3 separate regions of the Homo sapiens genome follow, and regions 1 and 3 are each linked to region 2. The links are contacts of gene promoters, found by promoter capture Hi-C in human tissues and cell types (Jung and others, 2019). All regions are on one chromosome and are shown on one strand. The core of a region is centred on a gene start or on the middle of the fragment in contact, and the rest is flanking DNA. Distances in the headings are between cores, read along the strand shown. Region 1 overlaps RAB44 (RAB44, member RAS oncogene family). Region 2 holds the start of STK38 (serine/threonine kinase 38). Region 3 overlaps BNIP5 (BCL2 interacting protein 5).

Region 1 (3,021 bases), core at 289-2,788, 180 kb after region 2:
TACAACCACATCCAGCTAATTTTTGTATTTTTAGTAGACACAGGGTTTCACCATGTTGGCCAGGCCGATCTGGAACTCCTGACCGCAAGTGATCCTCCTGCCTCAGCCTCCCAAAGTGCTGGGATTACAGGCGTGAGCCACCGTGCCCAGCCCGATAGGGAAATTTCTCCAAGACATCCTGTTAACTGGAAAAAAACAAAATGCAGAACACTGAATATTAATGAGTATGATGAATGTTTTACACTGTATTTGTATAAAATAGAGGGGGAAAGATGTATGTGTATGGGTGTATATATGTGTGTGTATATATATGTATATACGTAAAATGCCTCTGGAAAAATATTTAAGAAACTGATAACCCTGGTTGCCTCTGGGGAGGGGGACTGGGTGGCTCCAGGATGGGGCAGAAGGAAGGAGACTTTTCATTGAGTTCTCCTTGAGACCTTTTGAAATTTGAGCCATGAGAACTGTTACCTAGTCAACAATAACTACACTGTACGAAGAAAAGCATACGGACATGCTCTGTGGGAAGCAATTAGAAGTAGGATAGGTTACTTCTCCCACTTTGCAGAGGCCAGGGCCTGGGGTCTGGATGCCTGGTGTGGCCTCATGCAGACTCTCTGGGCAGGTACCACAGTATGACGCGACAGCTGCTCCGCAAGGCTGACGGGGTGGTGCTCATGTACGACATCACCTCCCAGGAGAGCTTTGCCCACGTGCGCTACTGGCTAGACTGTCTCCAGGTGAGCAGATGGCTGCTGGGGTTGGCCCCAGTCCCTCCAGTCAAGAGGGATCTTATATCCTGCCCACTCCCTCTTTTCTCCCAGGATTACAAATGACATGACAGACATATGGGTGACACCACCCACTGAGGGCATGTGGTTGGATGAGCTGGGAATGCAGTAGTACAAAGAAACCACAACCACATAGTACAGACTTCAAACCAAACTACTTCCTTTATCCTGTGAACATTCTCTTCCTACATATGGCAGCTGTTTGTAATGTCTTCTTCTTACACTTGAGGCTAATGTAGTTCTTGTGCCATTCCATGTGGTAATTCCTCTGTTCACACATCTCTAGTTTTTCCCCTGCTTACTTCCTCAAAGCATATATACTGAAATTCTGCAGTGTGTACTAGCACAGCAGAGGGGTGTGAAGTTAGCCATGTTGCCTTCTCTCTGGAAGTTTCTAGTTTAGCAAAAGAAGCAGGATAAGGTAATGTGTGAAGAGGGGAGCTGAGCACTGGGGTCTGACAGGACCTACATTTGAATCCCACCCACCCGAACTCTGTGACTTTGGACAAGTGAATTGAGTTCTCTGAACTTCAATTTCTGGAATTCTCTCATAGGGGAGTTGTGACAATTAATTGATAGAATTGCTTTCAGCACAGCACCTGGTGTATAGCAATCACTCACTAATCAGAAACTATTATTATTATTCATGAGACAATTGGGAAAATGTATAATCAAGTGCTGGACTGTTCAGAACAGGCAGGAAGAGAGGACATGGGCAGGAACAACCCAGGAAGGCTTCCTGGGGGAGGTGTTCTTAAGGTTGGCCTTGGAAAATAAGTGAGATGTTTATCAGCAGAGAGGAAGGATGGGGGAAAGGGTCCAGGTGAGAAGGTTATGGAGTGGATGTGGCCTGGGAGGGGGAACATGCGGGGGACACAGTTCAGCTTCTAGGAAGGCAAATGTGCCAGGAGCCTGGCACACAGTGGGTGTGGCTGACAGAACATGTTCTGTGTGCAGGATGCAGGGTCGGATGGGGTGGTCATCCTTCTCCTGGGAAACAAGATGGACTGTGAGGAGGAACGGCAAGTGTCCGTGGAAGCTGGGCAGCAACTGGCCCAGGTAAGCACTTGGGCATCAGCCCGTCTCTGTGCGTGGACTGGGCAGACACCTCCCTGGCAGGTGGTGGATAGGCATCACCTGACCTGGGCAGCCGAGAAGAACCCGTGGCCCATTCCTGCCCCTGCCCCAACCAAAGGCCTGTTCAGAGTGGACAGCAGCCTAGCCACCTCTGCCTCCCACACAGCCCTGGCCTCTGGAGATGCGCTTTAAGCCCAAACCCAAGGCTGGAGTGGCGGGCGTGACACTGAACCTCACTGTTGAATTAGCACATTCCCACACCATGTCCCCACCTACATAAGAAATAGCTTCAGAGTAAAAAGGTTTTGAAAGCTTTGCTTAAAATTCCCAATCAAATTTTAATTTTATCTCTGGTCTCTAATTAACGTGCTGCCTTCTAAGTTCTCCTATTTTAAGACTCAAATTCTCCCTTGGGATGATTACATCAAAAGCCCCACTGCCAGACAGTGAACACTATCTATTCATGAATGGCATTTAACCACATTCCAGAAAATCTGGAGAGTAATAAAAATAGAGGGAAAAATCACTCCTCGCCCCACCTCTCACACAACCCCTCTTGGCATCTTCCTACTGTATTTCCTTCCTGTTTCTCTTCCCACTTCCCGTAAATTGTGAGGTCATCATTGTGGCTCCTGCTGGAAGGGAATTTTTTTTCTTTCTTTCTTTCTTTTTTTTTTTTTTGAGATGGAATCTTGCTCTGTCACCCAGGCTGGAGTGCAGTGGCACGATCTTGGCTCATTGCAACCTCCGACTCCCGGGTTCAAGCGATTCTCCCACCTCAGCCTCCTTAGTAGCTGGGATTACAGGCATGTGCCACCACGCCCGGCTAATTTTTGTATTTTTAGTAGAGACGGGGTTTCACCATGTTGGCCAGGCTGATCTGGAACTCCTGACCTCAAGGGATCTGCCTACCTCGGGCTCCCAAAGTGCTGGGATTACAGGCGTGAGCCACCATGCTCGGCCTTTTTCTTAAAAGTAGTAACTCATCCCTTTGACATAGTAATTTATCCTCTAGCAATTTATCGTAAGGGAAGACTCAGAAGTAATAATCCCTAAAGGAACACCTAATGGATACCCATGTATAACGTACAATCGAACAGGTTTATATGAGGGTTTTCAAATATTATTTATAAGAACAAACATTTGGCAG
Region 2 (3,190 bases), core at 183-2,682:
CAACATTGGAGCTAAGATTATTGCTTAAGTCGCATGTCTAATCTCTCCCACTGAACTGTAAATCCTACTAAACTGTAATCTCTACCTACACTAGAAAGCAAGCACCATGTCTTATACTTGTTTTAATATTCTTCCCCCATTTCATGCACAGTGCTATGCACTTAGCACCTTAAGAAAGATTAACTAGGAAATATACTCATTTTTGATGTCCATTCCTAGGAGTTTATGTGTGATGGGGGATAGGGCTGGGACATGAAATGGTTTGCTATAGCGTTCTCTCCTCTTAGGAGGAAGCTGGTATCTAACGTTTAGGGTGGGGAGGAGAGCCTGTTATCGAGGTGGTGGTTGTTTTATGTTTAGGGAAACCAAATATATTGCCTGGCTAATTCAGAGGCAGGGTGAGCTCAAAGGGTGGAGACACTCAGGGTCTACTTCACTCCAACCCTCCTCGGTGCATTTCAAACAGAACAAGTTTCTCTCCGAGTCTTTTAGTCGTTTCAGAATGAACTGAGAGATCTGGTCTCTCTGCCGGCCGTTCTGCCCGCTTTCTGACACAGACTTTCCTCTAAGCCCTTACCGACTTTTTCCTCTGGCTGTTGCTTTTCCACTCTCTTCTTAAGAATTTTCCCTGCCTTTTCCTGTGATTTGAAGCTTATCTGAAGCCCAGTATCCTAAGACTAACGGAGAAAGGAGCCGACTCAAAGATACCACACCCCAAGGGGGGCTTTCGACATCTCTGCCTCAGACCACAGTTCACAGACCCCAGAAGAAGGAAAAGGAGATAAAAACCGGTGATGACCGAGATCCCTGAGGGACTGACTGGTGGCAGGGAGCAGACAAAGGTGGCAACATGGAAAGGAAAGCCTGGCTCCCGCTCCAACTGCAAAAGGAGAAAGATAAAGGATGGGGTGGAAAGGCTGGGACTGGAAAAATGTGGAGAGGGCCAACAAGGGGCATCTGGAGACGGGGGAAGAAGGGGGTTAAGGAGAGGGGCGGAGAGAGGCCAAGAGGCTGAGAGGTTAGGGCTTGAAAGAGGGCGCCGGCGAGCAGGAGAAAGCCCAAGAAGGAGTCGGAGGTTGGGGAAGGAGGAGATAAAGGAAAAACCCCGGGATGGAGTGAAGACGGCGGCAGCAAGCAACTCACCAGAGCCCAGGGAGAGGCAGGGCTGGGGACGGCGGAGAGCCGCAGACGCCCCTTCGGCCAGTAGTCTCGACTTGAAGGCTGGCGAAGCCCCGGCGGCGGCAGCCAACGAGCCAAAGACGGGAGGGGACGCGTGAGGGACTCTGAGACAGGGGGCAACAGGCGGTTACGGGTGAGGACAACAGGAAGCGTTCCAACTGCCGGAAAAGACGCGAGCGCTGAGGGGCCAAGGCAGCCCGGTCCCCCGCCGCGGAGACGGGCTGGCGCGGCAGCCCGGGGCCGAGACTACGCATGCGCGACTTCCCGGAGCGGCCGGGATTGCGGAACTGCGCTTGCGTGGCCCCGCCCTGCCCCTCCCTTCACCCCCTGCCTAGGGCTGGCTGGACCTGGGTGAGGCCAGATGTGTGAGTGTGAGGCGGTCTCGAAGTAGGCTGGGCTGAGGGGGAAGTTCCATTGTTTTCTTTTGTTTTACTTTTTACTTCGAAATAATTATGGACTCACAAGAAGTTGCAAAATTAATACATACAGGTTCCCTATACCATCACCCACCCAGCTTACCTCAACATTTTTCTTAAGATACAACATTCTCAAAGCCAGGAAATTGACATTCGCACAATACAATTAACTAAACCAATACAATTAACTAAACCAATACAATTAACTTCATTACAGACCACACTCGGATTTAACCTGTTGGGTATGCAGTCATGTGCGTGTGTGTGAGTGTGTGTGTAGTTCTATGAAATGTTGTCACCTGTATAGTTCCCACCCACCCCCCTACCCCGTGTAGAACAGGTCTGCTGGAGCCCTTGGCCCCCCTCCTCTTCCTTAAAGTAAGGACCTTACCTGGGATAAGGTGAGCTCTCATAGGTTTGGGAGGTTACCCAGCGGGCGACCCAGTGTGGACAGAAGAAGGTGCTTTTCAAGGCCACCCAACTCTTATTCTGTACTACTTTTGGGGGTAAAGAGGTCCCAAGTTTAATAGCCTTTGGGCACTTGTCGTTTCTTGAGAATGGAGCACAAAGCCCTCAACTACAAAGTGTCAAGCTCCTGGAAACTAAGATGAACGAGACATGGTCCCTGACTGCCTGCAAAGGGGCCATCTAGGGAGAGAAGGAAGCATGTGCTGCGAGTTATTCATTCATTTCATCTTCAAAGCCCAGTTTCCTTTTGTCTAGCCTCTTAACAAAAATCACTTCTCGCCAGGCGCGGTGGCTCCTGCCTGTAATTCCAGCACTTTGGGAGGTCCAGGTGGGAGGATAGCTTGAGCCTAGGAGTTTGAGACCAGTCTGGGCAACATAAGGAGAATCCACCTCTAAAAAAATTTTTGTAATTGGCCAGCATGGTGGCAAGTGCCTGTGGTCCCACCTACTGTGGAGGCTGAAGCAGGAGGATTGATTGAGTCCAGGAGTTCAGGGCTGCTATGAGCCATGATCATGACACTGCACCCCAGCCTGGGCAACGGAGGGAGACCCTGTCTCAATCAGTCACTACATACATATCAATCAATCACTTCGCCTTTCATTCTCTCTGCCCAGAGGCCCTTCTCCCCAAATGCCTGTTGTCAAAGTCCTACCCATTCTTAAGCTTTTAATAATAGTCCAAGATGTCTGCATAATGCTTTACAGTTTACAAACAACTTTCACTTATTTAATCTCACTTGGTCCTCACTTTGGCAGTGACACACGAGGTTTTGCAGATGAAGTAATTGATACTTAGAGAAGCTAAGTGACTTGTCTGAATTCCCACGGCTAGTAAGCCAAGTAGCCAAGAGGGGAACCCCATTTTCTGTCTGCAAATCCAATGTTCTTTCTCCTCTTCTCTTTCCTCCTTCCAAAGCCCAGCTCAAACCTTATCTTCCTCCTGGAACTTTCCCAGTTTCAGAAGAGGAATTTCACTCTCTCTTCTCTCTTATATATATGTTTTTTTTGGTGGGGGGAGGGGGGTTGTTTTTGTTTTGTTTTGAGACGGAGTGTCGCTCTATCACTAGGCTGGAGTGTAGTGGCACGATCTCGGCTCACTGCAACCTCCACCTCCCAGGCTCAAGTGA
Region 3 (2,977 bases), core at 209-2,708, 220 kb before region 2:
AGGGCCCCTGACCTTGAGGAGATCTCAGGTGAGGTGGGGAAAGAGAGCCACGGTGGGCTAGCAGGCGTTGCCCAGAGAAGAGTGGTTGATGCTCAGTGCTGGGGAAATATGTGTGGTCTGGAGGGGGCTGGGGAAGCTTCAAGAAGGAGGGACTGGGTCCGGGTGCAGTGGCTTACACCTATAATCCAAGTACTTTGGGAGGCTGAGGCAGGTGGATCACCAGGGGTCAGGAGTTCGAGACCAGCCTGGCCAATATGGTAAAACCCTGTCTCTACTGAAAATACAAAAATTAGCCGGGTGTGGTGGCGCATGCCTGTAGTCCCAGCTACTCAGGAGGCTGAGGCAGGAGAATCGCTGGAGCCCAGGAGGTGGAGGTTGTAGTGGGCCATGATCGAGCCACTGTGCTTTAGCCTGGGCGACAGAGCAAGACTCCGTCTCCAAAAAAAAAAAAAAAGGAGGGACTGGAGCAGGACACAGAAGAGCAGCAGAGACAGGGAAGTTGTTACACCAGGCAGGGTTGGGGAGCCCACAGTGAGGTCAGGGTTACATGGGGAGCGTCTTCCTCACCTCCTCTCCTTGCTGTTCTTCTGCATCTTGGAGCATGGAAATGATCTTCTGAATGAATTCTTCTGAAAAAGATCAACACGCATGGTTAACTTTGGTGCTACGAAATCTCTTCTGCGGTCAGTCTTCATTTCCTAATGCCCCGGTGGCTCCCTGGGTGATTCTCCAAGGGGGCTAAAGAGCTGCCAGAGGTGGCCTGAGGGCAGAGCTGGTTTCATGGGATACATATTCACTTTACCAATGACGGCCTCTAAATAGACACCCAGGAGGAGGCCCCTCAGGGCCATCTGGAAAGGCCCATTCCCTACAGGTGCCCTCATCCTGCACCTTCTCCCTGTCCAGGCAGAATTTCCCTTCAAGGCATATTTTCTATGAAAAGCAAACAAGGCAGAATGGCAGGGGATAGGGGGCAGAGATCTTTCCAGGTCTTTTCAGACCTGACGGTGATATTATATATATATATATATATATATATATATATATATATATATATATATATATATATATATATATATATATATATGTTTCTAGGCCTGGCTCTGCCAATGGTAAAATAATAATTACAGCGATGGCAGCTGCCATTAGCTGAGCTTCCCTCCCAAGGCCCCTACCCCTGTCCCTATCCTTTTTACTTCTGAGCTCTGCTCTCAAGCTGGGCCACCCAACAATGACAATAATAGCAACAAATGGCACCTAACACATATTAGCCACTAACAGGGGCTGCCCTAAATGCTGCCGACAATTCTAGAAAGCAGGTACTTGCTGCCCCCATTTCACAGATGAAGAAACTGAGACCAGAGATGAAGTAACTTGCCCAAGTCCACACAGCTCAAAGGGGTCACAGCCCAGACTCAAACCAAGGTCCATAAGATCACCCCATTGGCCGAGCCCTTGGTGTGGGCCAGCACTTTCCTCCCTTTGCCTCCTGTCTGCCTCATCAGGGTAAGCACCAACACTATCGCCATTTATCGAGGTTCAGACAGGCAGCCTGGCTTGGGCCTGGGCTCTGGGCCCCAAGCTGCCTCCCCAGCCTGCTGTACTCAGAGGGAGGTCTGGACAGGTCACTGCCTCTCTCTGGCTCAGTGTCTCTTTGCAAGTGGGGGAGTCAGAACAGAAGTTTTGCAAGGGGTGTCTGAGAAAAAGAGAGGAGTACTGACTGTATTCCGAGGCTCTGTCCAGCGGAAGCTCCTCTCCAGGTTCCTGGCTCTCTGATGGGGTGGGAAGCACGGAGGGACCTGGAGCCCCAGCCTCTGTAGATGGGGCCTCCTGGACTTTAGGTTCTTCCAAGCCTGAGAAGCAGAAGGAGAACGAGGGTGTGTTTTGTCTGTCTGGGGCTGTTAACTATGCACAGAAGCTAGCACAAACTAAAAGTGGGCTCCGTGGCTGGATCACATTAAGGACTTATGGGGCTGGAAGACAGCTGCTGGGCAGGGCTGTGCCTCTGATTTACTGGCCCAGACCGAGTTCCCTTATCCCTTTGTGCTTCCATAGAACTGGCTTTCCTGGGCTTTGCTGCCCTCTCCTCCCTCCACCATTTTGACTTGATCCACAAGTTGAAGAGTAGAGGCCTGGTCCCATGGCATGAATTAATGAATCATAGCCAGAATCCCCCTGCATGAAAATATCTCCCCATGGGCCTGAAATTCCCCTCTTTGGTGTTAAGCGTCACTCCCTCCTTTCTAAGATGTAAATTCTCCTGGCCAGGATGACCTAACAGGATGACCTGTTCTCCCTGATGCCCAGGAAGAAATGACTTGTCTGATCCTTTCCGCCTCTAGCTCTGGCCCCATCATCCATGGGCCATGTGGCCTTGAACACATTGTTTTACCTCCCAAAGCCTCAGGTCCTTCATCTGTAAGGTGGGGATAATAGTTGTACTCCATGTGATGGCTGTGGGGATAATAGTTGCACTTCATCTGATGGCTGTGAGGACTGATCGTGTTATAGATATGCAGCAGGGAAATGTCTCACTTTACAGGTGAAGAAATTGAGGCACAAAGATGGGGAATGACATAGACAATATGCTAGAACCCAGGTCTCCTGCCTCCCCTGCTCCAGCTCCTTCTTGCACACACTACTCCCCTCCCTGCCAGGGTGCAGAAGTTGAGGCGGCCAAGAAATGTTGACGGTTGGGAAATCCCGGAACATAATTTCCATCAAGGGCTTATTGGGGTTGCCTAGAGCTCGCTGAGGTGTTGTGTGTGGAGGTGACCTGCTGGCATTCTTTCTGTCTTCCCACAGTCATCCTCACACCACTCAGGGCAGAGTGCAAAAGTCAGACCAGGCACAACGCAACCTTTAAAATGGTCAATTCCATCCCCAGGGAAGGTTCCAGAGCTGGAGGCAGCTGCAGGGTTGCTATGGCAACTGCAGAGCCTGCTCACCATAGCTGCTGGAGATGGAAGGCCGATGG

What was found. Contacts are between HindIII fragments. The study calls those that stand out against the background at their distance.
Region 1: a fragment that was not itself captured here is called in contact with the fragment with the promoter of STK38 in region 2 in 1 of the 25 tissues and cell types used here (pancreas).
Region 3: a fragment that was not itself captured here is called in contact with the fragment with the promoter of STK38 in region 2 in 1 of the 25 tissues and cell types used here (mesenchymal stem cells).

The regions. Positions count from the first base shown.
Region 1 is chr6:36,726,949-36,729,969 of GRCh38, forward strand. It overlaps RAB44 (RAB44, member RAS oncogene family), which reads left to right. Exons shown (of 14, transcript NM_001257357.2): 11 at 629-743; 12 at 1,752-1,853. Among named protein-coding and RNA genes, the nearest start is that of RAB44, 31 kb to the left of the region's middle. The HindIII fragment of the contact is 8,420 bases long and covers 1-3,021 here.
Region 2 is chr6:36,546,047-36,549,236 of GRCh38, forward strand. It overlaps STK38 (serine/threonine kinase 38), which reads right to left and starts at 1,433. Exons shown (of 14, transcript NM_007271.4): 1 at 1,144-1,433. RefSeq lists an enhancer at 968-1,491 and a silencer at 1,239-1,578. The HindIII fragment of the contact is 5,084 bases long and covers 1-3,190 here.
Region 3 is chr6:36,323,562-36,326,538 of GRCh38, forward strand. It overlaps BNIP5 (BCL2 interacting protein 5), which reads right to left. Exons shown (of 12, transcript NM_001010903.5): 5 at 2,949-2,977; 6 at 1,722-1,853; 7 at 568-629. Among named protein-coding and RNA genes, the nearest start is that of BNIP5, 12 kb to the right of the region's middle. The HindIII fragment of the contact is 8,343 bases long and covers 1-2,977 here.